Linked DNA regions of Homo sapiens: all the other regions are linked to region 4. Evidence: promoter capture Hi-C in 16 types of primary human blood cells and fetal thymus (Javierre and others, 2016). All regions are on one chromosome and are shown on one strand. The core of a region is centred on a gene start or on the middle of the fragment in contact, and the rest is flanking DNA. Distances in the headings are between cores, read along the strand shown.

Region 1 (5,049 bases), core at 10-2,509, 480 kb before region 4:
TCAGAGCGCGTGGGGTTCCCCAGCTTGGTGTAGCTCTCCACATTTCGAGAGGCAAGCTTCACACGCATGGTTTGTGTCTTCGTTGGATAGGGAGAGTAGAAATAATGGTTCCCCTCAAACACCACAAACTGTTTCTCTGACTGGGTGATCTGGGTTGGATACGGATGAAGCACATGGGTGTAGACTGTTTCCACAATGACTGAAATCTTGGCCCCAGGATCAAGAGCAACTGGGAGCTTGACTGTGAAGAATCTCCCACTAAAGGAAGAACAAGGCAAGAGAAGTAAGAGAGACTGAGGATACTGAAAACAGTAGTAGCAGTTCAAAGTCACAACAAAATTTTGAACCAAAGACAAAAGCAATTATCTTTAAGAGATCACCTTTTCCTTTTTGAGATGGAGTCTCACTCTATCACTCAGGCTGGAGTGCAATGGTGCGATCTCGGCTCACCACAACCTCCACCTCTTGGGTTCAAGCGATTCTCCTGCCTCAACCTCCCGAATAGCTGGGATTACCTATTAGAATGTTTTTAACTTTTGTTCCATTGTTGAACATTTACACTGTTTTACACTCTTGCTATTTATAAACAGCCCTGAGAGAAACAGCTACATATCTGTCTTAGAAGACTTAAATTATTTTTTTCTTTTTTTGAGACAGAGTGTTGCTCTGTCGCCCAGGCTGGAGTGCAGTGGCATGATCTCAGCTCACTGCAACTTCCACCTCCCAGGTTCAAGAGATTCTATTGCCTCAGCCTCCCGAGTAGCTGGGACTACTGGCACCTGCCACCATGTCCTGTTAATAAAAGACTTAAATTACTATATTAAAGGTGATCTCTTGGCTGGGTGCAGTGGCTCATGCCTGTAATCCCAGCACTTTGGGAGGCCAAGTCAGGTGAATTTCCTGAGGTCAGGAGTTCCAGACCAGCCTGGCCAACATGGCAAAACCCTGTCTCTATTAAAAATACAAAAATTAGCTGGGCGTGGTGGTGCACACCTGTAGTCCCAGCTACTTGAGAGGTTGAAGTGGGAGGATCACTTGAACCCGGGAGGCGGAGGTTGCAGTGAGCCAAGATAGCGCCACTACACTCCAGCCTGGGTGACAGAGAGAGACTCCATCTCAAAAAAAAAAATTTTAATAGAACCACACAACAGAATACTGACAGTCGTTAGAAATATGGCTTCACACAATAGAATATTGGCAGTCATTAGAAATATGGCTAACCTACATATCTATATTAACATGGAAAGATGTCCATGTACAATGTAAATAACGAAAATCTGTTTACAAATGACAAAGAATAACTCCATTTAAAAACATACATAGACCCGGGGAGGGTGGCTTACGCCTGTAATCCCAGCACTTTGGGAGACCGAGATGGGTGGATCACGAGGTCAGGAGATCAAGACCAACCTGGCTAACACAGTGAAAGCCCATCTCTACTAAAAATACAAAAAAAAATAGCCGGGCGTTGTGGCGGGCACCTGTAGTCCCAGCTACTCAGGAGGCTGGGGCAGGAGAATGATGTGAACCCGGAAGGCGGAGCTTGCAGTGCGCCGAGATCGTGCCACTGCACTCCAGCCGGGCGACAGAGCGAGATACCGTCTCAAGAAAAAAAAAAAAAAAAAAATGAATGAATGTAAAGAATAGTATTTCAAGGAATGTTCAACAAAATGTTAATGGTAACTGTCTCAAGGTTGTAGAATAAGTTTAGTTTGTCTTTTCCAATTTCATTTTATTTTTTATTATTATTATTTTTTGAGACGGAGTCTTACTCTTGTAGCCCAGGCTGGAGTGAAATGGCACAATCTTGGCTCACCGCAACCTCCGCCTGCTGGGTTCAAGTGATTCTCCTACCTGAGCCTCCCCAGTAGCTGGGATTACAGGCGTCCGCCACCACGCCCAGCTAATTTTTGTGTTTTTAGTACAGAGGGGATTTCGCCACGTTGGCCAGGATGGTCTGAACTCCTGACCTCAGGTGATACACCCGCCTCGGGCTCCCAAAGTGCTGGGATTACAGGCATGAGCCACTGCGCCAGGCCCTAATTTGTCTTATAAGGAGCTTGTATCATCCTCATATCAAGAAAAAAATAAAGCTACTAATATTTTAAAGAAAAACAGATGGCTGACCAGCCTTACCAACAAGGTGAAACCCTGTCTCTACTAAAAGTACAAAAATTAGCCGGGCGTGGTGGCAGGCGCCTGTAGTCCCAGATACTCGGGAGGCTGAGACAGGAGAATTGCTTGAACCTGGGAGGCGGAGGTTGCAGTGAGCCGAGATTGTGCCACTGCACTCCAGCCTGGGTGACGGAGCGAGAATCCATCTCAAAAAAGGAAAAAAAAGAAAAACAGATGGCCTGGAAACTTAAAATTCACAGGGTACTAATTCTAAACTGAATCAGTTTTCCAAGCCAGGAGAACAATTTTTAGAAGACGTAGAAACCACTAGTGAAAAATTGAATTAATAAGCTTCAATGAGTTTGTCCTCAAAGGTGAGAACATGGATCACTCTTCCTGATATGACTTTATAGAACACAAAACTTGCATGTCTTTATCAGTCACACCATTATATTTCATATTACAACTGTGACGTTCACTACTCAAAATATAAGTAGCGGAATCTTCTCCTCAGGACAGTCTTAACCAATTCTTAGTTTCAAGTCCCAAATGTGCTTCTCATCCCACTCTCTGTCCTGAATTCTAAAATCAAATTTTCAAATGTTTACTAGACAGCTCCACTGACCACCCCACATGCAATTCAACAAAACCTTATCATTCATGATCCCAAGTCTTGATCTCTCTTAATACCACTGCCATCTGATCAACTCTAAGCTAGAAACCCAGGCATCTTCTGATGCCTCACTCTGCCCTGTCCCCAATACCTGGGCAATCCTGCCTCAGAAATTCCTCTCAGACCCATCCCTTCCTTTGCCTCCTCCTCCATTCAAACCAATACCATGTGCCTAGACTACTGCATCTCTTCCTATTAATCTCCTAATCTCCCTTCCCCCCAGCCCATCTACACAATCTCAAATCAACATTCCCACATTCATTTTACAAGTTGTTAAATGCTGCCACATAATTTAATTTTGCTTTGATAATTCAGAAGACAAATCAGAACCTTTCAGCACTCCAAGATCATTAGGAACATCAAGTCTTACCAAAATGTGGAAGCACCAGCTAATGAAGGTTTTTCAATCAATAAAAGGCTAGACAACACAGAACTGTCTAAACTGATGTACATGGAGCAGGTCTTTTTTTTTTTTCCTAAAGCTCTTCTCTAGCTGGATCTAATGGGAGAACATTGTGTGAATGACTTGGTTTTTTACTCATGTACTCAAACTGATTTACTGAGAACCCCATATAGGTCAGTTTCTGTGGCAGGAAGAGGTGATAAAGACAAATTCATATAATGTATGCACATATAACTAGAAATGAATAAAATGGTAAGCTATGAAAAAAAATTTTTTAATGTTCCCAACTGTGGGCTTTAAGGATAAAGCCCACGCCTTTAATAATGGTTCAGAGCAGTCCTTAAACTGAACTCAACCCACCCTACACAGCTTCACCTTCCTCTGAGCAAGAGCCACTCTGAAAGCCCAGTTAACTAAACACACCATGAAATGTCAACCCTCCGTATCTTTACAGATATCTCTGCCTGAAATGTTCCTTCCATTCCATTAGCCTTCTTTGTGATTAATTCAAAATTTATTAAGTGCTTACTAAGGCTCCAAGTACATTATATATATATTGATTTAGTGAATCTTTTTTTTTTTTTTTTTTTTTGACACGGAGTTTTGCTTTTGTTGCCCAGGCTGGCAATGGCATAATCTCGGCTCACCGGAACCTCTGCCTCCCGGTTCAAGTGGTTCTCCTGCCTCAGCCTCCCGAGTAGCTGGGGTTACAGGCATGCACCACCACTCCTGGCTAACTTTTTTGCATTTTTAGTAGAGATGGGGTTTCTCCATGTTGGTCAGGCTGGTCTCGAACTCCCAACCTCAGGTGATCTGCCTGCCTCGGCCTCCCAAAGTGCTGGGATTACAGGCGTGAGCCACCACGCCTGGCCAATTTAGTGACTCTTAGCCATGATCATATCAGGTAAACACTATTATTTTACTGATGAGGAAACTGAGGAAAATGCTAGTAAACATAACAGAGCTAGGATTTGATCCCAGGCAGTAAAGATGCAAAAAGCACAGTCCTAATAACTAAGTTACCTTGCCTATCCAAGACGCTACAAGCCAGCAGCTAGAGCCAATAAACACAGACAGGGTACTCAGACAGCCTCAGAGAGGGAGAGGAGTCTCTTAAAGCAAGAGAAAGCAATTTTAATAGCGACTTATTTAAAGCTAACTCTCAGATCTTACAGCCTCGGGGCTGGTGAGATGCCTACTTCATACACTCAGTGGAAAATCAAGATAATCACCAAGAAAAATTGAGATAATCACCACGCATTAAAATGTGGCTCCTGAGAGGATGTTGCTGTACATGAACTCAAAGTAATTCAAGGATTAAACTTAACAACCAAAGAAAGACAACTATGAAGATAACACAGAAAACAAAAAAGGTGGCCAGGTAGTGGCTGATACCTGTAATCCTAGCACTCTGGGAGGCCAAGGCAGGTGGATCACCTGAGGTCAGGAATTCAAAACCAGCCTGGCCAACATAGTGAAACCCTCTCTCTACTAAAAATACAAAAAAATTAGCTGGGCGTGGTGGTGAACACCTGTAATCCCAGCTACTCGGGAGGCTGAGACAGTAGAATCACTTGAGCCTGGGAGGCAGAGGTTGCAGTGAGCCAAGATCGCACCACTGCATTCCAGCCTGGGTGACAGACCGAGACTCCAACTCACAAAAAAGAAAAGAATAGATATACTCACATACAAGAAAAAAAGGGGTCAGGCGCAGTGGCTCACAACTGTAACCCAACACTTTGGGAGGCCGAGGCGGGTGCATCACCTGAGGAGTTCGAGACCAGCCTGGCTAACATGGTGAAACCCCATTTCTACTAAAATTACAAAAAATTAACTGGGCGTGGTAGCACGCGCCTTA
Region 2 (5,035 bases), core at 770-3,269, 320 kb before region 4:
CTGGCTTATTTGAATCACCTGCAGAACCTTTTTTTGTATGTGTGTGAGAGACAGGGTCTCGCTCTGTTGCCCAGACTAAAGTGAATGGTGCAATCACAGCTCACTGCAGCCTCAACCTCCTGGTCTTAAGCCATCCTCCCACCTCAGCCTCCAGAGTAGCTGGGACCACCAGTGTGTGCTACCACTCCTGGTTAAATTTTTGTATTTTTTATAGAGACAGGGTTCTACCATGTTGCCCAGGCTGGTCTCAAACTCCTGGGCTCAAGCAGTCCACTCGTCTCGACCTCCCAAAGTGCTGAGATTACAGGCTTGAGCCACCATGCCCAGCCTTTGAAGAACCTTTTGTTCGCTAGCATTTGCCCAGCCCCAGACCAGTGGGCTAGGGCCTAGATTTGTGCTCTCTCTCCTACCCCGCAACTCCATCCCCGTCGGGATGGAAAGATAGTGCTTTTAGGCCTGCCTTCCCCAAACTTGTGCAAAAAGTCTCACCAAGCCCTTGTTCGATTCCAGGTTTTGCCACCTCTCACCTTGTAGATTCTGGCTTAGATGGTCTGGGTTGGAAAACACTGCCTTCGGCTGTCTAGGTACCTCCAGGTTCTTTAACACAAATATGAACATGTTCCTTTGTGGCCAAGAAAGGTGATATCACTGGCTATGGGGGGGAAGGTTTTTGTATTAGCTTTAGGTTACCTTAACCTTATCACACAAAAATCACACATTGTCTCTTGCTGAGTTTTCTTACTAGAAAACATATTTGGAGGAGCATTCTTTGAGGTGGATTTGTTTTGGTGATATATTGGTGCTTTTTCTGCTTCAGATTTTAAACTTTAAAGCAGCAAATTGTCTGAGTGGTGTGTGTCTGCTGAAAGCCAAGGTCTTCCTCCTGGTGTTACTTCATCAAGCTAAATAGCAGCCACTAAATGGAGAAACATCTAAGATAGCAGGGATACTGTTGGAATAGCAGAACAGTCTTAATAGTGAAGCTTCTTTTAGAAAGCAGTATATTTGCTGGCATCCTTCTAGAATGGAAAAAATAATACTAGGCTCTACCATTTGACCTGGCTGTGCCAAAACATGTAAGCAGCTTTTCCACATCTGCCCCACATCTGTACCCTATATTTTTACCCAGAGAGAAAACACAAAACTTCAAAAGTGTAATGCTCGGAAGGCTACTGGCATTGCCCTTTGCTGTGAGGGCAGTTTCTTGTCCTTCAGGTCAGGCAGATTCTTTTAAATGCTTCAAGTAATTCGTGTCAGTTTCAGGACCCTCCTATTTGACTTATACTTATGGTTTTTCTCCAATTTCAGAGTCGGGAAGACATCACTCATGAACCAGTATGTGAATAAGAAATTCAGCAATCAGTACAAAGCCACAATAGGAGCTGACTTTCTGACCAAGGAGGTGATGGTGGATGACAGGCTAGTCACAATGCAGGTAAGCACATGTCTTGGCTGTGCTGACCAGGCCTTGATAGTTCATTTAGTCTTAATCTTTCCTCATGCATAGACATTTTCCTTCCCTGTTCTTCAAATCTTATTATCTTATTTGTAGATAATTGGCTGATACTCAGTTAAATTTGAATTTCAGATCAATAGTGAATACTTTTTTAGTATACTTCTAGTGTATCTCAGATACGACTTGCTAAGACACACTAAAAAATTCTTCTTAAAAAAAAACTCAGATTTATCCTTTCTTGTTTTTTGTTGTTTTTGGTTTTGTTGTTTGCTAAATTTGGCAACCTGCAGGTCTCTGTCTTGTGCCTCTCTTGACATCCTTGCCCAGTGCTTTAGGTAAACATCTTTGTCTCACCTCAGTAGTGAGACATAAACTTTATTTTTCTGACTTCCTATTTCATACGTAACTTCAAGAGTTGTGTGTCTATTGAGCCAATCTTTTTTTTATGTATCAGCTTATTAATCTTTCAAGGGTTCCCTTTCAACAGTTAGGATAAGATACAGATTCTTTCATATGACTTGTTGAAAAGCCTTCACATTCTGGCTATAAACTATTATTCCCTTTTTTTCCCCCATTGAGTCATTTTGTTTGTATACATGTATTAACATCCCTAGAAAAGAAACCCCTGAAGGATGGATACCTTGAGCCCAGGAGTTTGAGCCTGCAGTGAGCTGTGACTGCTCCATTATACTCCAGCCTGGGTGATGGAGTGAGACCCTGTCTCTAAATTTAAAAAAAAAAAAAAAAAAAAAAAAGAATCCCAGGATTTTCCCTCCTGTATTTTCATCTCTTTCTTCATGGTCCATGATGCCAGCTGAGGTTGTCAGTACAACCTCACTTTGAAACCAAACTATTGGGATAGGAGTAGATTATCCTGTCATTTTTCTAGATCTTTGAGTTGCACATCACATCTGGGGCCAATCATTCCAGGGGCAGTTTTAACCTGCCTGTGAGGTTTACAGTAATTTTCCCAGCTCTGTGATGACCAGTGATTTCAAATTTTCAATGTGATCATGTTTCATCTTCACACTTAGAACCAGACCATGACTTGGGAGCACAGCCTAATAAGAACCTGGTGTTTGCCCTTGAGAGCATCAGCCAAGACGTTCATGCATTACGGAGGCAAGAAAAGATGGTGGAAATAGCTGTTACTCACTTTTTTTTTTTTTGTCTCGTTCCAGTCATTCCGAATCATGTGCTGCTCTTACAGACTTGTGTTGGTGGATATGTCTCTGCTTCCAGCAGGGCCTGTATACCCACCTGAAGTCTCCAACTTTTAGCTCAGATCTTTGGAAACTTCTATCTCCATGGCAGTTGTTCTTTCCTATGTGCTTCTAGAGGCAAATACAATTCTAATCCCATTATAGTCCTAGAAAGTACCTGGCAAATAGTGGGGGCTTGCTGAAATGTGTGAATGATGTAGGTTAAAGGTAGAAATTTGTGCACGTGTTGACCTCGAGCCATGGCATGCTCCTAGAGGATCAGGACTCTTAATTGACTCACACTTCTAGGACAGAGCTGGTATGAATCTCTCATCCTCACCTCACCTACACACATACACCTAGAGATCTTCAAAATGTAACTACAGTTTAAGCAAGTCAAGCTTGAGAGTAGAACTGGAAAACCTTGGCCCAAGAAATTGGCAAAGCTTGTGTCTGCAGTTGTTGGAGATTCTCAGTCCCACTCTCCACATGTACAGAAATCTTTGTCTCAAAGGATTTAACATAAATCCCTGTCATTCCTGGCAAAAACAAGGGTAAGACCACTCTGTAGGGACATTTAGTACCGCAGGAGAGAAGATGAGTTCATAACCACATGAGGAAATAATGTACCACAAGAGATGTTCACAATGACTAGAGATGTTCTAAAAAGAAATAGAAACCATAATGGAAAGGGATACTATAAAAAAATGAGGATATGGAAAACTTAGAACTTCAAGAAGTGAAAACATAGTATTGAAATAAGCTAAAGGAACAGTTAAACTGTAGATTAAATGGAGCTGAAAAAAGCAGTAAGCCGTAAGAGCTGAGCAAATTTTCTAAAAGAAGACTTAAAATTGTAGAAGACCGAAAAGCAAAATCTTAAGAGCAACTATAGAAAAAAAAGACATGACTTATAAAGGAACAACAGACTGACAAATTCTCAACAGAAGGCAGAAGGGAGTAGAATTACTTCAGGGAGCTGGGGTAAAGGCCCATCTGAAGATTCTCCATGTGTCACAGCAAGACTCAGACTGCCTTTTGCTGAGGGAAAATAGAACTTCTCCAGCTGAGCTGTGGTTTTGGTAGCCATGTGGGCCAGCGAATTCAGAAATCAGAGTTCGGCCCCTGCTGGGTCGGGGGTTGTCATAACAGTCCCGTCTGTACTACTAAGCTGGGACCTTGGGGCGCTGCACTCTTGAAGTAAACCCCATCAGGAGATCCACAGCGCACTGTGGGCTTCTCAAGAAGCCCAAATTCCAGGAAGGATAAATAAAAAGAATTCTGTGTAAGTCATAATGAAACTAAAAAAGAAAAAGGCTTAAAAATAGACTGAGGAAAACCTGACAAGCACAGCACTGAGGCTGTCAGGTGACTCTTGGCAGTAGCAGCAGAGCCCAGCAGGCAGTGGGGTATGTTGGGAAAGAGACGGGCAGCACAGTGTTCTGTCTCTGCTGAAATAACCCTCCTGAATGAAAGAGTACATCTTTAAGGGCTAGTGGCAGAAGTTCTAAAGGATAACTCCAGGCAGAAAGTGATTTCATGTAGATGAGGAAAGAGTGGAAAAAGATAACAAGTTCCCAAGAGATTGAAGCAAAAGGATGACCCTTGTGCTCTTGCAGCCAGCTTCAGATACTAGAAGTAAATGAAAATCATTGTCTCTGCACAAAGGCGTCATTATCCTGATCTTGAGGAATCCTCATGTGTTTTTCGAGGGCTTTTAGCAGCTTGCAGTAAAACATAATCAAAATAAAACAAGGCACCACAAGAAAGAACCAGTGGAAACTTCCCTGGTAATTCCAGAGTGTTTTTTGTATTTAAAGAAATAAGGAGGATACAGAGTTTCAGTTATATGAGATGAATAAATCCTAGAGATGTGTACAGCATAGTGCCTGTAGTTAACAATACTGTATTGTACACTTAAAAATTTGCATGCTGGATGCGGTGGCTCATGCCTGTAATCCTAGTGCTTTGGGAGGCCAAGAGAGGAGTTTGAGACTAGCCTGGGCAAAATAGCACATTTCATCTCTACAAAAAAATTTTTTGAAAGAATTTACTAAGAGGATCTTATTTTAAGTGTTCTTATCACAAAAAGTAATAATAAGAGGATGGGGGGAACCTTTTGATGAGTAGGTTTGTGGCCTACATTGTAGTGATGGTTTGTGTGCAGCCTTTGTATGTCAGCCATACCTCACTAAAGGGGCTTTGGTTAAAGATAAGATAATCGTTTATCTGCAGGGAAGAAACGAAACAGTTAACATTGATAGGGGGAGAAAATGAAGCACAATCAATGAAATTTGGAAATTCAGAGAATGCTGCTAAATCATAGCAGATTGGCCACACCAGAAAAGGGCTGGAAGAATGAAAGAAAAATGGCAGG
Region 3 (4,616 bases), core at 1,531-4,030, 440 kb before region 4:
CCAGTTACAGAACCACACTGGGGCCACATCCTCTCCAGCCCAACCTGGAGATCTGCTGCAGTGTGGGTTTGTGGGCGCACTGGCTGATGTGGCTGATCTGCTGGGCAATGTGGCTAATCTGCTGTAGTGTGGGTTTCAGGCACTGCAGGAACAAGTTCTCCAGCTTGCCTCTCACTCGGTTCTTCTTCTTTTTTTTTTTTTTTTTTTTTTTGAGATGGAGTCTCGCTCTGTCGCCCAGGCTGGAGTGCAGTGGCGCGATCTCTGCTCACTGCAAGCTCCGCCTTCCGGGTTCAGGCAATTCTCCCGCCTCAGCCTCCTGAGTAGCTGGGACTACAGGTGCCCGTGACCACACCCGGCTAATTTTTTTTTGTATTTTTAGTAGAGACAGGGTTTCACTTTGTCAGCCAGGATGGTCTCGATCTCCTGACTTCGTGATCCTCCCGCCTCGGCCTCCCAAAGTGCTGGGATTACAGGTGTGAGCCACCGCGACTGGCCCGGGTTCTTGTTCTTTCGGCCTGCCTGAGGGTCTCTGCTTTGCATATCTCCTGAAGCTCTTCATTGTTGGCTGCTTCCTCCACCCACTTCTGCAGCAAGGGAGGCAGCTTACACATGTTCTTGAAACTGAGCTGCAGAGCCTCAAAGCAGCTGATGGTCATTTGGCTGAACACCTTCCCAAATAGAACCCCCCAGAGGCTGGGCATGGTGACTCACTTCTGTAATCCTAGCACTTTGGGAGGCCAAGGTGGGAAGTCAGAAGTTCAAGACCAGCCTGGCCTGTAACATGGAGAAACCCCGTCTCTACTAAAAATACAAAAATTAGCTGGGCATAGTGGCACATGCATGTAATCCCAGCTACTTGGGAGGCTGAGGCACGAGAATCGCTTGAACCCAGGAGGCAGAGTGAAACGCCTAACCTTGTTTTTACTCTAACTCGTTACTTTGAATTTTATCCTGCTTGTCTCTTTAATCACCTAGCCTTGCTTCTCATGTAAATAAGACTCTCTCTAGCTGGGAAAGCCAGACAAACTCCAATTGACCCCTTAATTTACAAGATACTAAGGGCTCCTTACCCAACCCCCTTCCGCAAGGAGTTAACCTGTGTAAGCAGATCCTCAGCATTTCAAAGTAGCCCAATTAACTGATAAGGTACTAGCACCAACAATGTATGAAGTTCCCAGGATTTTTCTCAAAGAGATAACAACATAAAGCCTTGAGTTCCTGTCCGGCATACCCCCTATATCTAATTATAATAAAGGTTTAAAGCCTTGCACCTGGTACCGTTGCTCTTCTTGTAACCATTTGTCTTTTAAATTGTTTATCTCTTTGTAACCATTTTTTTTTTATTCTTGCATGTTTTTACTTCTGTAGAATTATTGCATTTGAGTTCCCCTCCCCTTCCTAAACCTAGGTATAAAAGTTAATCAACCCCCTTCCTCGGGGCCAAGAGAATTTTGAGCGTTAGCCGTCTCTTTGGCCGCCGGCTTAATAAAGGACTCTTAAATCGTCTCAAAGTGTGGCGTTCTCTCTAACACCCCTGGGCACAACAAGAGGTTGTGGTGAGCGAAGGTCACGCCACTGCACTCCAGCCTGGGCAACAGAGTGAGACCCTGTCTCAAAAATAAATAAACAAATAAATAAACATTTAAAAAAAGAGCCCCCAGGGTGAGCCCCACACGGGCCTGGATATATCCCAGGGTGATCCTCTTCTGCTTCAGGAGCTTGGCAAATTACAGAGCTTTGATGTCCTGGGACTCGTTGAGGTTTTGCTCCAGCTTCTCCTTCTCTAGCTTCATGGCACCAGCTGGGGCAGTGCAAGGCTCCAGGGAGGCCCCTCACAGTTGCTCTCCACCCAGGCTCCTGCCTCGCCCTCAGGCTGAGAGGTCTTCAAGCCACCTTGGGGCACTAGCCCCACTGCAACCGGAGACCCAGAGTATACCATCTGCCCACGGAACTCATGCAGTGGGGGGCACGGGAGAAACCCCCACATCTCAGAGCCTGGCCCAACACCCGGCCCAATTCCTGCCTTGGAAGCTTAGCCAAGTCCAGCTCCCGCCCCGCTGACCCATTACCTCCACCACCTGGAAGGGGCAAGAAGGTGAAATCCAAAGCCAGGTGTCCCACCATGGGGAAGGAAGGCTCCCCAAGCCAGGGATCTGGTGAAATGAGGCAAAAAGTTTTTAAATTTTAAAAAAAGTTGTTTTAGAAATGAGGTCTTGCTATGTTGCCCAGGCTGGAGTGCAGTGGCTATTCACAGGCATGATCATGGCTCATTACAGCCTGGAACTCCTGGGCTCAAGCGATCCTCCTGCCTCAGCCTTCTGAGTAGCTGGGACTACAGGCATGTGCCACTGTGACCTTCTTAAGGCTTTTGAAATTTTAAAAAGAAAAAGAGTCTGCATTCCTGACAACACACCAATGCCCCATACAAGACTCAGATGTGCCTGCCCTTATTGCTACTTATTGCTTGAGACAGATTAACCCTTGTCTGTTTAAGCCACTATAGAAGGCTACATTGTTATTTGCAATGTAATTTGCATTGTTATTTGCACTATAGAAGGCTACATTGTTATTTGCAGCCACAGTCATAATTATAATTATATGTGATAAATCTTGGAGCTTATTCTACAACAGTACTACTTTATTTTGTAGGAGGGGCTGCATAGAATTCCTGTTAAACAAATGTGTCTTTTTTTTTTTTTTGAGATGTGGTGTCACTCTGTCACCCAGGTTGGAGTGCAGTAGTGCGATCTCCACTCACTGCAACCTCTGCCTCTGCAGCTCAAGTGATCCTCCTGCCTCAGCCTCCTGAGTAGCTGGGACTACAGGTGCCTGCCACCACGCCCAGCTCATTTTTGTATTTTTTGTAGAGACAGCGTTTCACCATGTTGCTCAGGCTTGATGTGTCATTTTTCAAAAATCAAGCCAGTCCCCTATTTATGAACAATTAGTTTGCTTCCATGCTTTTGCCATTCAAACAGCCCTCAACTGTACCTCTTTCTACGTTTGTCTGTGCACATGGGGGAATACATATGTAAGATAGTTTCCTTGGCCCTGAAGTGCTTAATCAAAGGATTGGTACAAAGGATTAATGTTACATTAACAGATATGCCAGCTTGCCTCCTCATGGAGTTGTAAAAATGTACACTCCCACTTGTAGGTATCACAGCCTGCTTTCCCCAGCCTTGCAAACAGTGTCCCATCACAAGTCATTCTGAATGCTAGTATAGGACACCAAATCTCTCTTTCCTCCTAACAACCTGGCTAGGCAGCCAGGACAGGGATTCCTATTTACTACACTCTGGTTTTATAGGTAAGTAAACAGATTCCCAAGGATAAGGAACCTACTTTTCCCAACCTCAACCTGAATTTCTGGGATTAATACCTTCTAAGAATAGATATGAATGTGTAGTGTTGTAGCAGTAGCAGTAGTATTTAATAGTAGTAGTAGTAGTGTAGTACCATCATCCCCATTCCCCATTCCTCAAGCTGGAAGCCATTCTTTTCTTCACTTCTGGTGGAGATGGGGACAAAAGCTTTGTTTCTTTTTTTTTTTTTTGAGACGGAGTCTCGCTCTGCCACCCACGTTGGAGTACAGTGGCAGGATCTCGGCTCACTGCAACCTCCACCTCCCGGGTTCAAGCAATTTTCCTGCCTCAGCCTCCAAATTAGCTGGGATTACAGGCCTGCAACACCATGCCCAGTTAATTTTTGTTTTGTTTTGTTTTGTTTTTTGAGACAGAGTCTGGCTCTGTCGCCCAGGCTGGAGTGGAGTAGCACGATCTCAGCTCACTGCAACCTCCATCCCCCTAGTTCAAGCGATTCTCCTGCCTCAGCCTCCTGAGTAACTGGGATTACAGGTATGTGCCACTAAGCACAGCTAATTTTTTTTTTTTTTTTTAGATGGAGTTTTACTCTTGTTGTCCAGGCTGGAGTGCAATGGCGCAATCTCAGCTCACTGCAACCTCCACCTCCTGGGTTCAAGTGATTCTCCTGACTCAGCCTCCTGAGTAGCTGGGATTACAGGCATGCACCACCATGGCCGGCTAATTTTGTATTTTTAGTAGAGATGGGGTTTCTCCATGTTGGCCAGGCTGGTATAAAACTCCTGACCTCAGGTAATCCGCCCGCCTCAGCCTCCCAAAGTGCTGGGATTACAGGTGTGAGCCACTGCTCCCGACCCATTTTTTCTTTTTTCTTTTTTCTTTTTTTGTATTTTTAGTAGAGATGGGGTTTCACCATGTTGGCCAGGCTGGCCTAGAACTTCTGACCTCAATTGATTCTCCCATCTTGCCCTCCCAAAGTGCTGGGATTACAGGTGTGAGCCACTGCACCTGCCCAAGAGCTTTGTTTCTATCCTTTCTAGTCCATTCCCTCATAATTTCTGAGCCCCAATCCTTCCCTTCTTCCAACCCTCTTCTCTTTGTTTTCCTACTAGGCCTGCCTTTGCGAAGTCCCACTGTAGATCATAAGGAGGCTGCAAGAACTGATGAGTGGTCCATTTCCTTGCAACCTCTAGAAGCCGGAATATACTTCAGGCAGGGCCTTGTTACCAGAGACAATGTGTAGCAGTTAAGGCCAGAGCCTTCCACTCCACACCACCCAGGAATTGCTATGGC
Region 4 (4,319 bases), core at 145-2,644:
GAAACCATGAAAGCAAGCAAAGATTTCTGTACAGTGCGGTTCAGAAAAGTTACTGAGTGCCTTCAGCCCAGGATCTCCTGGTTGATTAGGGAGTACTAACACCTAGGTTAAGAAACTCTGATTTCATTCATCACAAATATTTATCAAACCACTGCCAGGACATTGTGGCAACCACATCCTGCTGTTTTTATTCGGAGCCATTGCCAAAGCTTGGTTCTCTCCCCCACCTTCCGGTATCTGTGAAGTTTTCAGTTTCTATCAAACTCCAGCTGGGGGAGGGAACCGGGGCTGGCCCTAGTCGAGTAAAGTTCCACCACCAGGTCCACAAAGAGACTGCAGGGAGGCGTGGCCAGGCCGGAAATTCTGACAAAAAGTTTTGGCCCTCTGGTCCTAAAAGCAACTACTTCCTGATCGCTCCTAGTCCTGGGGTGGGGATGCAGTTCTCTGGCTGAGTGCCCCGCCGGTGGGCTGAGCTGGGGGCTGCCATCGCGGTGGATGGAGGTGGGGGGTCTGATCTCCGCACTCCAAGGCGCTCCGCTAGTACCTGGAACAGGGGAGTCTAACCCCCTGCCTTCCAATGGCTAAAGTTATTTTGGAGCACAGTCCCCTCCTAGGGTGTGAGCTCCGGAGGGCAGGGCCGCCTCCTCCACACTCCCTCGCCCCCCCCCCCCCCAGCAACCCACGGCCGGCGCTTTGAGGACTTGAACCCGGCCCAGACCCCGGGGCCCAGGCCTGCTCCGACCCGAGGAAGGAAAAAGGGGAAGCCAAAGGAAACTTCAGATGGACGCGGGGTGCGCTCGCCGCGGCCAGGGGCTCCGCTGCCCCCGCCCCACCCTCCGAGGGAGCGCCTTCCAGGGGCCCTGGCCGGCCTCCCACCTTGACCCGCTTGCCCTGGATCTCCAGCGTCTTCATGGTGAAGTCGACGCCGATGGTGCTTCCCTGGCGCTCCGAGAAGGCGCCGGTCTTGAAGCGCTGCACCACGCACGTCTTGCCCACGCTTGCGTCGCCCACCAGCACCAGCTTGAACAGGAAATCGTACTGCTCGTCCGGGTCCCCCGGGCCTGGGCCCGGCCCTGCCATGGCCTAGAAGAAGCCGAAGGGCCGGCGCTCTGGACGCTGGGACCGGCCTGAGCTCACGCAAGCCGCGGGCCGAGCTCCGCCCGCTCCAGCCCACGGGCCGCCTGGCTACGTGGAGCCGCCGCAACACCTGAACCCCCAGCACTGCCGACCGCCTGCCTCGGCCTCGGCCCCGCCCCACCCCGGCTGGCTCCCGCCCCGGCCCGGCTCGGCCCCGCCCGGACCCGGTGCCCCGCGGGTTCGGCTCCCCCCCGGACCCGCCAAGCCGGGCCCTCCGCAAAGCTCCGGCCGGTCCTCAGCTCCGTGCCACACCAGTCTGGCCTGTAGGCCCGCCCCAGCCCGCCCCCGCCCGCCCCCGGCTCCGCCCTCAGGCTGGCACCCACTCCGCCCCCAGCCCAACCCTCGGGCCCACCTCAGCCCGACCCGGGTTCCGCCTACGTCCCCGCCCCCGACTCCGCCCTCAGCTCCGACCTCGACTCCGCCCCCAGGCCCACCTCAGCGCGCCCCGACTCCGACCCGACTCTGCCCTCAGCCCGACCTCGACTCCGCCCACAGGACCACCTCAGCCCGCCCCGACTCCGCCCTCAGCCCGAACTCGACTCCGTCCCCAGCTCCGACCTCGACTCTGCCTTCAGGCCCACCTCAGCCCTCCCCGACTCCGCCTTCAGCCCGACCTCGACTCCGCCCTCAGGCCCACCTCAGCACACCGCCCCGACTCCGCCCACAGGCCCACCTCAGCCCGCCCCGACTCCGCCCTCAGGCTCACCTCAGCTCTGACTCCGCCCCACCCGACTCCGCCCTCAGCCCCGACCCCAGCCCGACCCCGCCCTCAGCACCTCGGCCCCTCCTCCATCAACACCCCGGCGCGCCCACACCGCGGATCCGTCTGGCCCCCAAACCGCTGCCCACCCCGACCCTTCATCAGCTGGGACCCCCAGGTGCTGTCCCGCGCCTCCTGCTCGCCCCCCACCCAGGCCTGGTCCGCCTGCCCGGGATCCCCTACCTGCTGCCTCCCAGACCGCCGGTCAGGGACAGGCGGAGACCATGGCTGGAGCTCCGGGCCTGCAGGCCTAGACTAAGAATGACCCCCTCCGGAATGGATCACGGAGGAAGGGGACGACCACAGCAGTGTCACCTGAGTGCCCACTCTGACAGGCGGGCAGTGCAGTCTCCGAGAGTGGTGGGGGTCGCTCTTCCCAGGGGCGGAAGGGAAGGGAGGGAGCAGGCTGCAGAAGGCCAGAATCCAGGCTGGCTACAAAACTGCGGAGGAGCCCAAAATCCTTGTGAGGAGAGGACCCAGGGCCCCATTTGATGGGAAGCTAGGCCAGAAGGAGGAGCTGGGAGCTCTTGTCTCCAAAAGGCAGCCTAGCAGTGGTTGAAGCAGCTGCTAAACGGCTGGATGACCCAGCTCAGAGCAGCTACAGGCCCATTTGGGAAACTGACCCAGCCAAAAAGCACCAGTCTAGGAAGAGGAACAGAAAAACTTGAAGGGATTTCTGAGGAAGGGCAGACCAACTCCTGAGTTGGCCCAGTGAACCAGGGCGCCTCAGAGAAAGGAGACCCAAACATCTGTAAGAAGCTTATACTAGATCCAACAGGACTGGGCTTCCCAGCTCCGAAGATGGGAAGGAATTGACAGCACCCCTTACCCCTCTAGACAGCTTCCTTGTGGCACTCCAATTCCAGGTATTCAACATATTTAATGAATGGCTACTACAGGCGGGCATTGTCCTGGGGCCTTGTAATGCACCTGTGGACAAAGCAGACAAAAATCCAGGAGAAAAGGGGAAAGTCTTCAAGCTGAAGGAGACTTCGCAGAGAGCAAGTCCCCCAGTGCCACTGTGAGGACCCCAGCCAACCTTTCAGGTCAAGATAGAAAGGGACTGAATGAGCAGTCTGCAAAGGCAGACCCCGTGGAGAAGGCAGAAGAGTTGTTTCTTCTGAAAGTTTGAACTCCACTCCCATGGGAAATACCCAACAGAATCAGACAGGAAACCCCAAAGTGCCACTGAAAAGCAATTGAGAGCCCCACTTTGGTACACCTGATGGGAGCGGAGAGTTAGAGAGGCAGGAAATAACCTCCACTCCAGGGTAGAAGTAGACAGGAGATGGGATGGAAGGTTTCTGCATGCTGGGACTAGCTCAGGTCAAAGTCCAGAACTCCAGAAAACAAGGCCTGCCCCCAGCTCAGAGCAGCTACCACAGCACAAAATGGTGTGGAATCCAGGAGCCAGGATGAAGCGTAGGGGTAGACGGTGGTTGGATAGCTAACTGGCCTTTCCACTGCTCTAGCCTGGAACTGGTTGGGCTGGGGCAGGGGACATGTTGGTCTGAGTATAGATTTTGTCAGAAAACCCAGGCACCACTCCCTTGCCTTTGCGGGGTGATTCTAAAATTGGACTGTGGTAAGGGTTGCACAACTCCTCAAGTTTATTAAAATCATTAAAATGTAAACTTACAACCTGTGGGTTTTATGGTATGTAAATTATACCTCAATAAAGCTGTCTAATATCTGCATTTCCTCTTTTGGTGGTAAATTCCTGAGTAGCACAGTGGCATTTTATTTGAAATGGAATCATGCTAATTTGAAATGCAGCAATTAAAAAATATTTATGTTTCATTTAATACACCAAATTTGAAAAAATGTATATTGCACTTTTTTTTTTTTTGAGACGGAGTCTCGCTCTGTCACCCAGGCTGGAGTACAGTGGCGCGATCTCGGCTCACTGCAAGCTCCGCCTCCCGGATTCACGCCATTCTCCCGCCTCAGCCTCCCGAGTAGCTGGGACTACAGGCGCCCGCCACCATGCCCAGCTAATTTTTTGTATTTTTAGTAGAGACGGGGTTTCACCGTGTTAGCCAGGATGGTCTCGATCTCCTGACCTCATGATCCACCCACCTCGGCCTCCCAAAGTGCTGAGATTACAGTCGTGAACCACCGCACCCGGCCTATATTGCAAAATTTTTAAAATAGGTCAAGAATTTAGTTGCCGGGCACGGTGGCTCACGCCTGTAATCCCAGCACTTTGGGAGGCTAAGATGGGCGGATCACGAGGTCAGGAGATCGTGACCACCCTGGCTAACATGGTGAAACTCCGTCTCTACTAAAAATACAAAAAATTAGCCGGGTGTGTTGGCCGGCGCCTGTAGTCCCAGCTACTCAGAGGCTGAGGCAGGAGAATGGCGTGAACCCAGGAGGTGGAGCTTGCAGTGAGCCAACATGATGCCACTGCACTCCAGCC

Evidence for each region. The method cuts DNA at HindIII sites, captures the fragments that hold promoters and counts their contacts. A CHiCAGO score of 5 or more calls a contact.
Region 1: a fragment that was not itself captured here is called in contact with the fragment with the promoter of RAB43 in region 4 in 1 of 17 cell types (activated CD4 T cells); the score reaches 5.5 in activated CD4 T cells.
Region 2: a contact is called between a fragment that was not itself captured here and the fragment with the promoter of RAB43 in region 4, in 1 of 17 cell types (naive CD4 T cells). The highest score is 5.7, in naive CD4 T cells.
Region 3: a contact is called between a fragment that was not itself captured here and the fragment with the promoter of RAB43 in region 4, in 1 of 17 cell types (total CD8 T cells). The highest score is 7.5, in total CD8 T cells.

What each region holds. Positions count from the first base shown.
Region 1 is chr3:128,637,848-128,642,896 of GRCh38, forward strand. It overlaps RPN1 (ribophorin I), which reads right to left. Exons shown (of 10, transcript NM_002950.4): 3 at 1-258. Among named protein-coding and RNA genes, the nearest start is that of RPN1, 10 kb to the right of the region's middle. The HindIII fragment of the contact is 2,410 bases long and covers 55-2,464 here.
Region 2 is chr3:128,796,635-128,801,669 of GRCh38, forward strand. It overlaps RAB7A (RAB7A, member RAS oncogene family), which reads left to right. Exons shown (of 6, transcript NM_004637.6): 3 at 1,309-1,435. It also overlaps the pseudogene RPS15AP16. Among named protein-coding and RNA genes, the nearest start is that of MIR12124, 48 kb to the right of the region's middle. The HindIII fragment of the contact is 2,076 bases long and covers 982-3,057 here.
Region 3 is chr3:128,674,882-128,679,497 of GRCh38, forward strand. It overlaps the pseudogene POU5F1P6. Among named protein-coding and RNA genes, the nearest start is that of RPN1, 26 kb to the left of the region's middle. RefSeq lists an enhancer at 455-524. The HindIII fragment of the contact is 1,502 bases long and covers 2,030-3,531 here.
Region 4 is chr3:129,120,410-129,124,728 of GRCh38, forward strand. It overlaps RAB43 (RAB43, member RAS oncogene family), which reads right to left and starts at 1,395. Exons shown (of 3, transcript NM_198490.3): 1 at 877-1,395. The coding sequence starts at 1,080. The region is part of intron 11 of ISY1-RAB43 (ISY1-RAB43 readthrough); the gene reads right to left. RefSeq lists an enhancer at 1-424 and silencers at 1,205-1,384, 1,405-1,624. The HindIII fragment of the contact is 2,447 bases long and covers 208-2,654 here.